Linked DNA regions of Homo sapiens: regions 1, 3 and 4 are each linked to region 2. The links are contacts of gene promoters, found by promoter capture Hi-C in blood cells and fetal thymus (Javierre and others, 2016). All regions are on one chromosome and are shown on one strand. Each heading gives the region's core, a stretch centred on a gene start or on the middle of the fragment in contact. The rest is flanking DNA. Distances are from core to core; before and after follow the strand shown.

Region 1 (2,700 bases), core at 161-2,660, 330 kb after region 2:
GAGGCCTCCACAGCCATGCTGAACTATGAGTCAATTAAATCTCTTTCCTGTATAAATTACCCAGTCTTGGGTATATCTTCTTAGCAGTGTGAATACAGATGAACAGAGTGTGTATTCTCCCACACTCACTTCTTTCACACGGCTGGAAGTATGGCTAACAGCAGTTTACAGGCTCATAGTTTCATCACTAAAGAGGACTTAAAACTTGATCTCTCTGTTGTCAAGTTAAAAGCTCCTGGGGGAGGGGGAGGAATGCAAATTAAAACCACAGTGCAATACCACCTTACTCCTTCAAGAATGGCCATTATTAAAAAGTCAAAAGCAACAGATATTGCTATGGATATGGGGAAAAAGGAACTTTTATGCAGTGCTGATGGGAATGTAAATTAGTACAACCTCTATGGAAAACAGTATGGAGATTCCTTAAAGAACTAAAAGTAGATCTACCATTTGATCCAGCAACCCTACTACTGAGTATCTACCCAGAGGAAAAAAAGTCATTACATGAAAATAATCTTTGCACGTGCATGTTTATAGCAGCCCAATTCACAATTGCAAAGATGTGGAACTAGCCTAAGTGCCCTTTGACTAATGAGTGGATAAAGCAAATGTGGTATATATACACCATGGAATACTACTCAGCCATTAAAAGGAATGAAATAATGTCTTTGCAGCAACTTGGATGAAGCTGGAGGCCATTATTCTAAGTGAAGTAACTTGGGAGTGGAAAACCAAAAACCATGTGTTCTCATTGATAAGTGGAAGCTGAGCTGTGAGTACGCAAAGGCATACAGAGTGATATATTGGACTATAGGTACTCAGAACAGGAAAGGTGGAAGGGGGGTTAGGGATAAAAAACTACACATTAGGTACAACGTACACTACATGGGTGATGGGAGCACTAAAATCTCAATTCACTGCTACATAATTCATCTGTGCAACAAAAAACTATTTGTGCCCCCAAAATTACTAAAATGAAGAAGAAAGGAAGAAAGCTAACTCCTGTGGGAAGGTTTCTGTTGGGTCAGTGTTATCCACAGACCAATTAGCTGCAGCCAGAGGGTAAGATGAAAGTGTGATGAATGTTTCAACTGGGCCCATCTGGGCACCCCTAGCCATTCACTGTGCCCAGGGCACATAGGATTATGGGAATTTTCACATGGACGTATGTAACTAAAGTGAAAAAGTGGCATTTTGTGGAAGGGTAGGACAAGCAATGAGTAGACAGAACAGAAGATGTTCACGGCCATATATTAGAGTTTTCTTATCTTCCGTGTTTGAATCTTGTCAGGCTGTTTTTATATTCTTTTTGGCTTTGTCATACGGACCAGTGCATTTATTATGGAAATAGATTATATAGCTATCAGTAATTTGTTCATAAATATTAGATTCTGTTCATTTTGCACAGAGATTAATCACCTGCCAAAATGTACATGATTTTCTTGGTGCAGAAAAATTACTTATTAGTCATATTAACAAGGGAATATCAAACATATTTTGAAGGGCTAGAAATGAAGACATAATGACCATATACTTCTTTTTAATAGAATATTTATTTATATTAACAAATGTTGCTTTATAGAAGACATTTCAACCTTAATCAAGTAAACCCTCTCTGAGTGATTTATGATATAATTTTGTTAGCTATATATGTCTTTATTATATGAAGAAGATTTGGAAAAAAAAAAAACTTTAAAAAGAGTCCCTGTCAATTACAGCTTAAAATCTATGCCTTGAAACAGAAATTTTAGAAAAGGTCTGCTTCGCTGTTAACTCTTCTGGTGATGGAGTTGTCAGTTTAATATCCATTTCACACCGAGGTGATTAAGTCAATTGTGATAATTCCACCCCATGGTAAAACCAATCCCAGTGGTTGGTTGGTTCAGAAATTGGTCCATGACATGATACATGAAGAAAAGGATGGTTCTGGAGAAAGTTTTCTTTTCCCTACTTGTCACGTGAGCTCTGCTCATGCCACCTGTCACCGGTCCACGGTGCGGCCAACACTGACGACAGCCCAGGAGAGAGATGAGAGAAGCCTGAGTCTTTGTGGACATTATTGATCAGTGAATTAATCAACCCTGAAGCCTGCCCTTGCCTTCTTGACTTTTGACAGATAATAAATGTATTTCTCATGGTTTAAGCCAGAATCAGGATTTCTATTATTTGCAGCTAAAAATTTCTTAATAGATATGATTGCAAAGTAGAAGAGAGAAACTTATTATCAAATAATTGTAATACTGTGTACGTAATCCATACAAACAGAGGTATTTATAAGGTATAGGGGTGCTGCAAAGTAGGGAGGTATATGAGGAAGTTTCTCAGAGAAGAAGATACTTAAGGTGGGTATTGAAGGACATTTCAGCAAAGGAATGAAGATGAGGAAGTGCCTTTTGGGCAGAGGGAGCAGCATGTGCAAAAGCACAGAGTAATAAAATAGATATTCTCAAAATCCCTCAAGTTAGACAAATTACAAAAGGCATAGACACATCTTACAGGAACTGTGGGTATGGTGGGTGCTAATCAGGAAACCAGGAAGTTGCCCGGGACAGATGTGTCTTCCCTCTCCATCTATCTTGATTTAGCACCAGATGGTCTCTTACTATTGCTTTGTTCAGGCAATGTGTTCCACTCTCCCGCTGACTTCTGCAAACCAGTTTCTCTGCTCTTCAGTATGAGTGCATGGCTTCCAGAGGACAT
Region 2 (2,700 bases), core at 62-2,561:
AAAAGAAAAAAATAGGTCTGAAAAGATCTTGGAGTCACCTTAAACTTTATCTGCCATGAGACACTTAGAAGAATCAGACCTTTGTTGAAGATTACAGAACAGAGACTCCTTCAGTCACACCCAGGAGACAGGTATTCACCGTAAAGACTAGAATGAAGCGTGGGAAGTGGATGGATCCAGTGCAGCCCCAGGGAACTGAACACTCACATGCCCCTGGGAAGCAGGTCTTTGTTGCTCTCCTTCCATCACTTGGTCTCAGCTTGTCTTTGACTGGCTTCTACCACTTGTGCCTCCACCCAACCTGCTGCTACATTCTCCTGGTTTCTGCTTACTCAAATGTTTTGCATCCGAAGCCCATTTTGGCCCCTTCTGCCTTACCCTCTCTTAGCTCCAACCTTTCTCTTACATCAGACAGCTCCGTCTCTGCATTCTCCACTTTCCATTTCCAAGGGAGTGTCTGATTGGCTTACTAACTATCAGAGTCCGTGTTTGATGAGAACTGTTTGCTCCAGGTCACCTCACAGGATGATGACTACATCACGGATTGTGCGCTCTTGGGTCACGCGATCACTCTTAATTTAAATTAGCTGGGCTGGGGGTGGGGAGGGGGTAAGGAACGTTTTTTGTAGTTATTTGTGCAACCCCTGCTCTAGAAATAGTTTGGGTAACTGTTTCCTTTCCAAAAGGACTCTCTGGGTACGGTAAGCATCTCTCTCTCACACACGCATATATTAAAATAACAGTGACTAAAACAAAGGGAGCATGAATAAATTGAATTATGAAGTTAAATGTATGAAATAATGAATGAACAAGGGAAGAAACCGATACTGACCCAGGGTCAACAACTATCTATGTCCAAGTAAAATTTCTTTGCAGTCTGACAAATTGGCTTTCAAGATTGCATTTTGTTTTGCGAATTAAGCCATTTTTAAGTCATGAGTCGTAGTTTTCTGGAGGCCCCCGGCATCCGGAACCCATGAATGCCACGTTCTTTCTAGCAGCCTTCAGCAATTTGAGGGCGCTTTGTTTCTTACGTTGGGAGAGAAATCCATCAGGAAATCGACGCCCAGGATCAGATGCAGATCCTGGGATCCTTGGCTCTGAGTAGCACGGTGGAAAAGTGAGGTAATCCAGGCTCTGGGCCCGTTTTCCTAGGAGCCCAGGGCGCTTCACCTGTCTGCAGTCAGCCCCTTTCTTGGACGTCTCCTCCCCTGAGTTTCCTCCTCATAGGCTTGTCCCTGGGAGTGTGGGCGGCCCCTTTCTTGAGCGCAGAAACACTTACTTTTCCCCCTACCCTGCTCCTCCTCCTCCACAGCCGTCTTTCTCTTTGCCTCAGCCACTTCCTTCCTTGGCCTCACCCTCCCCAGTGCACTGAAGAAGGTAACCGGGTCCAGACCCACGCGGCGCCAGTTCTCCGGCGGGAAGGAAAACCGCGCAGAGAGGTGCGTGAGCGCCCGGGCAGATGTGGCTTAGGTAGCAGGGATGGACTGGGTGTCCGTGGTGCGCCGCCGGGCACCGCGGGCTGCGGTGAGAGTCGGGTCAGGAGGGGGCCGGGAGGGGGCTCAGGGCGCGCGGAAGCTGCGACCGGCTGGGCCGAGACCTCGCGGGTTGGGGTCCCGTGGGGCGCGCGCCGCCCACGCCCCCACCTCTCGGGTCGACTTCCGCACTCGGCTCACGTGACGTTTCGCCGGCCGGGGGCGGACTGGGAAGCCGGCAGAAATGGAACGATTTTTACCGCGGTGCGACGTGTCGGCTTTGCACTTGGCGGTGGTTCAGGAGCCAGTTCTGCAGAGCTGGGTGGGGAAGGGCTGGGGGCGAGAGGAGAGGCTGCCCCGAGGAACGTGGTGGCCTCAGGGCAGTGGACTCTGCAGCGCCGGAGGTGGGTGCGGCTCTGTGCGCTCCAGATCAGGGGGTGCAGAGTCGTGAGGGGACACCAGGGGCTCGTGGAGCCCGGGGCAGGGTCCGTTTTCGTCGCCCGGGTTGGGTGCTCGCTCTCGCGGCGCTTCGGGGCGCCCGGGCCACGGGGGAGGCAGACCCGCGGCGCCGGGCCGGGAGCTGCGGAGACAAAGACTTCCGGGACGCGGCCCTTCCCGGGCGCCAGCGGTGCCGCCCCGCCACGGGGGGCCCAGCCCCGCGCTCCCCAGCCCTGCACTGGTGCCGGCGGTGACCGTGTGATGATGGGCTGCAGGGCACGGGGTTAGGGGACCTCTACCAGGCAGAACCCCAAGCTGGTAGCAGAATGGCCAAATATGGAGTGAGCGCGCCCCAGACCGGAGGGAGTAAGGAGCCCAGTCACCCTTTGACCCGCACCAGCTGCTTGTCCGCGATTGCGAAGAAGGGCTGGGAAAACGTGCCCAGCCCGAGTGTGTAAAGTTGGTTCCTGATTCCGGACATACCTATTCCAGTAGGCTTTATTTCCTTGGATATTAGAAAATCTCCATGCATTGCCTCCAAACTTTTGAAAAATAACAATGCCCTGAGGGTCCTTAAATACATTCTAAAGTGTGTATTGGTGGTGAGTTTCGGGTTCTGCCCAGTCCTCCGACTTTCCGCTTCCTTTGTGTTTCCCACGCACAAAGCCGAAATCGATTCTGCGACAATTAGAGTGCCTGGCCGTCATCTACCTCGCCTTCCCTGGAGCCTTTTCCTGTCTTCTGGTCCAGCCGCTCACCATTAAGCTCTTCCCTTTAGACTTGCTCT
Region 3 (2,700 bases), core at 3-2,502, 350 kb after region 2:
TTTCTTGAGGACTGGAAATTCTGATACATTTCCCCGTTCAGGAATTTGCAAAAGAGACCCAATCCTGATTATTTTCGTCTATGACCCCTCTGTCTTTTCCTAGTCAGGCATATTTTTGTAAATGTTGTTACTTTGTGTCTTGTCTTCTTTCCTCTTCCAGGCTCTCCGGCAAACCGTGCAGGCAAATAATTTTTAAACCTCAAAAATATTTACTTTTTAGAGATACGGGCACATGACACATTGCATTGTTAGTTGCAACAATTCCCTATTCTCCTAACCTCCCACCACCTTTACCTGTAGGTCAGGACATGCAGTTTACCGTATCAGAGGCTTGGATACCTGAAGGGGCCACTTCCTATAAAAAAACAGATTCTAAAATATTGGTAAAACCCAACCTGAAAAATCGCGGGATTGTTTACTTTCCCTTCTTTGTACTGCAAGTGTCTTTCGACACAAGAAACAGCTTTTGAATGTCTAATCTAAATTCCTCTTGCAACCACTAAGGAAAGGTGGAGCTCCATCCAGCTCCAGTGGTTCTACCTACTATTGGGAAATCCCTGGAAAGGTCACCTGCCCATCCCCCATCCCTTAAAGGAGAACAAAATAGTTCTGGGACCAGCTGGTTGGAACATGGCATGCTTTGTTCATTTATTCTCATCCGTCCACTGAATGTCCTCCAAGTGCCAAGTGCTTTCTTGGTGCCTGGAGATACAAACAAGATAGGAACTCATGGTCACAGGGAGAAAACTGACAAACAGGCCTTGAACACACTGTGATAAATGCCACAAAGGCATTGAAGGAAAGGGCTTTGGAGAGCACATAGGAGGGACACCTACCCCCCTCCTGGGTGCTTTGGGAAGGCTTTCCGGTGGAGATGGTGACTAAGTGGAGGCCTCAGGATGAATGGAAGTTTGGTCCCATTAGGAGTGGGGTAGAAAATGTATGGCTAGGGAGTGAATGCAAAGATGAGAGAAATAAGGTTGGAGAAATATGCTGGGGCCGGATGCCAAGGGCATTGTGGCCTCAAGCTGAGAAATTTTGCTGTATCCCAAAGACATTGGGAGGCAGGTAAAAGCTTGTGAAGCCATGAGATAGGAAAGATTTGGATTTTAGAAAGATCAGGGCAGTACTGTGGAGAATGGTTAGAGAAAGTAAGACAGGAAACAGGGAGTCCAGTTAGGGGGCACTTACAGTAACCCAGGGCTCCCAGAAGTTCCGTATAACCAGGGTTTATCCCGTGAACCTGGGTGAGCGAGCAAGTGATCTGTCTGTGGCCCTCACAGCACTGAATGGTTGTATTCATTTCCCAGAGCTGCCATAACACAGTACTATTTAGGTTGGTGCAAAAGTAATTGTGATTTTTGCCATTGAAAGCAATGGCGAAAACTGTAATTACTTTTGCACCAGTCTAATACAAACTTAAGGCTGATCAAGCTTTAAACAACAAAACATTATTGTCTCACAGTTCTGGAGGCTAGAGGTACAAGGCCAAGTTGTTGGCAGGGTTGGTTCTGAAGACCGTGAGAGAGAATCTATTCCGTGTCTCTTTCCTGGCTTTTGGTGGTTTCCCGGCAATCTTTGGTGTCCCTTGACTTGTAGATGCATCACACTGATCCCCACCTTCATCTTCATGTGACGTTTTCCACCCCCCGCCCCCCTGTATGTGTATCTCTGTGTCCAAAGTTCCCCTTTTGACAAGGACTCTAGTCCTTTTGGATTAGGGCTTCTCCTACTGGCCTCATGTTAACTTGATCACCTCTATAAGCTCCTGACTCCAAAGAAGGTCATATTCTGGAGGTTAGAACTCCAACATATCTCCAAGATATTTTTGCGGGGACACAATTTGACTAATAACAGTGGTAAATAAACTGAGTAATACAAGACCCCTGCTGCTGACAAAGAAAGTTGCCACCTGGAACTGTCTTCCCAGACGTCCTACTGGCCCATATTCTCATTTCTTCATGTCTCTGCTCAAATATCACCTCAACAAACTCTCCCTGACTGTCCTACCCAAATAGCAATATCTCTCTTGTTTCCTTGCCCTGCTTTATGTTTCATCTTAGAGTATCTTCCTACCTGACATGCTGCATGGTAAATTGACAGTTTACTGCCTTCCCCATTAGAATGACAGCTCCATGAGAGCAGAGACCTAGCCTGGTTGTTCATTCACTGTCTGAAACAAGTCCTGGCAGGTATTAGACTTTTACTAATTGAAGGGTGAATGCATGAATAAAATATGGCATTGGCACTATGGGAACCCCAATGAGGGGCCAAGGAAGACTTTCTGGAGAAGGTCACTCTCAAGGCTGGAGGTAGGCCAGGTGCAGTGGCTCACACCTGTAGTCCCAGAACTTTGGGAGGTTGAAGTGGGAGGATCACTTGAGCCCAGGAATTCGAGACCAACCTGGGCAACATCTTGAGATCCTGTCTCAACAAAATAAAATTAGAAAATGAGCTGGGTGTGGAGGTGCATACCTGTAGTCCTAGATACTGGGGAGGCCGAAGCGGGGGGATTGCTTGAGCCCAGGAGTTCGAGATTGCAGTGAGCTGTGATCACACTACTCCACTCCAGCCTTGGCAATAGAGTGAGACCTTCATCCCTTCTACCAAAAAAAAGCTGGAGGTAGAAAAGTCAAGTGGAAAAGGAGAACAGCAGCTTACCTTTGTCTGCATTGTGGCAGCCACTTGGGCAAAACTGTT
Region 4 (2,700 bases), core at 201-2,700, 300 kb after region 2:
CTCAATACGGTGCAGAGTTCAACCACCTCTCATCCAAATTATCTTAGTAACAACTGCCTTCCCGGCCACTCCCCTAAAATATCGATGCCTCCCCAGCCCAGCTTTATATCCCCCTTGTTCCTTCTTTTTCTGTAGAAAAAACACACTGCACATTTTCTGTACATTTTACTTATTTGCTGTGTTTATTCTTTGTCTCCTCCTCTTGCCTGTATGTTGCATGGGGGCAGGCATTTTCGCTGGGTTTTCCCTGCTGTTGAATCCCCCATAAACAGATGCTAATTGAATAGTGGCTTCCCCAGGACAGAGGCCCATGGGGCTATCAATTTTCTAAATGTCCATTTCCCTAAATCCCTTTATCTCTTTTGGATCTGTCCTCATTTTAAAATAAGAAACTAGCATTTCTGTGAACTGACTAGGAATAATTTCAATTGTCATTTCAGTAAGAAGTTTCATTTTGGACCAGTGACTATGATTATCCTTCCTTAAATACATAGGAAATCATTTTGTTGGTGTTGACATTGCACGAGATGAAGAAGGGATGGGGCTCAGTGTGTGGTTTGGGCTCTTTTGTTTGCAAGAAACCTCTAGAGATGTATTATAGTGACCCCAAGAAAAAGAATTTGTTTAGTTTTTTTTTTTTTTTTTTGAAACGGAGTCTCGCTCTGTCGCCTAGGCTGGAGTGCAATGGCATGATCAAGGCTCACTGCAATCTCCGCCTCCCGAGTTCAAGCAATTCTCCTGCCTCAGCCTCCCGAGTAACTGGGACTACAGGTGCGTGCCACCACGCCCAGCTAATTTTTTGTATTTTTAGTAGAGACGGGGGTTTCACAGTATTAGCCAGGATGGTCTCGATCTCCTGACCTCGTGATCCGCCCGCCTCGGCCTCCCAGAGTGCTGGGATTACAGGCGTGAGCCACCGCGCCCAGGCTTGTTTAGTTTTTTTATTTACTTATATAATAATAAAGAAACATGTGGACCTGGGCTGGGGACAAGCAGGAAAGTCACCAAGAATCACGAGGCACGTGGTTTCTCTCTGTACATCTGCTGCATTGTCTTCTCTAGGCTTACTTACCAACTTCCGCTGCTTACTCATAATTTCTGTTTCCTCTTCGTTTTTCCGGGGCCCTAGTTTACCTCCGGGCTTCCGTTGGCATCAGCTTCCATTCCCCTACATCTGATGGCTCGGCCCCTGTTTCTCAAAATTAGGCAGCTGTGGTTTACAACAGGGGACAGTCAACAGATTGCTCCAGTCAGTGCTCATCCCCGTCCTTTCTGCTGTGGTCAGGGTTTGGAAAGGGTCCCATAAAGCAAAACACGCCCCCAGAAGCTTTGCGCAGGGAAGGTAGATAGGAGTCACGCCCCTCCCCCATTGTCATCGCCATAGAAACAGGTTCCTGTTTATTCAGATGACTGTCTGTTTAACTGTTTCAACTCCACTTTGACTTGGAAAAGTGTTCTGGGATACTGACATTGTTTTATGATTCCCATCTTTGACTACCTTATTCTAGCACCAAATGTTAAACATGCAGCCCATTAATGCTTGAGCTTAGCTTTGTTTTCAGAATCTTCTGCCGGAAGCTTCTAGCTTCCTTCCAAGCTCTGGGGACAGAGAGGAGCCTCCTCTTTTGTGGAGTGTATTCAATGTGTGTGTATATATATATACATACATATATATTTTTTTCATTTAATTTTTTTTTTTAACTGTGACTAGTTCAGGATGACATTTTACAAAATCCCCCCGTTTTTTTTTTTTTTTTTTTTGGTCTGTTATTGTTTCTGGAAAGGAAAGTTTTATTTCCTTGTTTATTCTGTGTCTTCTCCTCTCTCCTGTATGTTGCATGGGGGCAGGAATTTTTGTTAGTTTTTTCTCCCTGTTCAATCTCCCATAAACAGCTGCTGATTGAACAGTGGCTTTCCCAGGACAAGGGCCCGTGGGACTACATTCAATGGTTTTAACTTGAATGCAGAATAATTTTTTTTAAGAGATTACCTTTTATTTCATTTTTTATTTATTTATTTTTTGGGGGGGACGGAGTCTTGCTCTGTCACCCAGGCTCGAGTGCAGTGGCACCACCTTGGCTCACTGCAAGCTCCGCCTCCTGGGTTCATGCCATTCTCCTGCCTCAGCCTCCCAAGTAGCTGGGACTACAGGCACGTGCCACCACGCCTGGCTAATTTTTTGTATTTTTAGTAGAGACGGGGTTTCACCATGTTAGCTAGGATGGTCTCAATCTCCTGACCTCGTGATCCTCCCACCTCGGCCTCCCAAAGTGCTGGGATTACAGGCGTGAGCCACTGCACCTGGACAGATTTTATTTTTTAAAAAAATCTTTAGTTCAAATGTATGCCAATACTTTTAAAAGCCAGGTAATATTAAGAGACTGTTGTTCTCAATCACCTGGCATACAGAAAGTTCTGGAATATTCATATTCCCATTATACAGCTGAACCACTGCTGGAGTCTTGTCTTTTGCTGCCATAAAGAAACAGATATGGAGTAATATGTGGTTAAGAGCAGAGCTCCACTAATTTGATATCTGACTATTAGTCACATGTCATTTTGATTCTGAACATCATCTGTGACTAGAAGATAAAATTAGTTCCTTTTTTTCTATGTTTTTATGATACTGTGTTTGGTTCCTAATGTTCTGAAAAATGCTAATGTGTGTTTTTCATAGAGCAACCTAAAATATATTTCCTT

What was found. The method cuts DNA at HindIII sites, captures the fragments that hold promoters and counts their contacts. A CHiCAGO score of 5 or more calls a contact.
Region 1: a fragment that was not itself captured here is called in contact with the fragment with the promoter of ABRACL in region 2 in 10 of 17 cell types (fetal thymus, non-activated CD4 T cells, naive CD8 T cells and 7 more); the score reaches 12.8 in fetal thymus.
Region 3: a fragment that was not itself captured here is called in contact with the fragment with the promoter of ABRACL in region 2 in 8 of 17 cell types (fetal thymus, non-activated CD4 T cells, total B cells and 5 more); the score reaches 10.1 in fetal thymus.
Region 4: a contact is called between a fragment that was not itself captured here and the fragment with the promoter of ABRACL in region 2, in 3 of 17 cell types (fetal thymus, naive CD4 T cells and total B cells). The highest score is 7.5, in fetal thymus.

What each region holds. Positions count from the first base shown.
Region 1 is chr6:139,358,831-139,361,530 of GRCh38, forward strand. No RefSeq gene overlaps it. Among named protein-coding and RNA genes, the nearest start is that of CITED2, 14 kb to the right of the region's middle. The HindIII fragment of the contact is 9,947 bases long and covers 1-2,700 here.
Region 2 is chr6:139,027,434-139,030,133 of GRCh38, forward strand. ABRACL (ABRA C-terminal like) reads left to right here and starts at 1,312. Exons shown (of 3, transcript NM_021243.3): 1 at 1,312-1,442. RefSeq lists silencers at 1,476-1,635, 1,896-2,265, 2,315-2,505 and enhancers at 2,159-2,453, 2,276-2,700. The HindIII fragment of the contact is 5,437 bases long and covers 1-2,700 here.
Region 3 is chr6:139,376,237-139,378,936 of GRCh38, forward strand. No RefSeq gene overlaps it. Among named protein-coding and RNA genes, the nearest start is that of CITED2, 2.9 kb to the left of the region's middle. RefSeq lists a silencer at 516-810. The HindIII fragment of the contact is 359 bases long and covers 1,074-1,432 here.
Region 4 is chr6:139,322,655-139,325,354 of GRCh38, forward strand. It overlaps a transcript of TXLNB not described here. Among named protein-coding and RNA genes, the nearest start is that of TXLNB, 32 kb to the left of the region's middle. The HindIII fragment of the contact is 251 bases long and covers 1,326-1,576 here.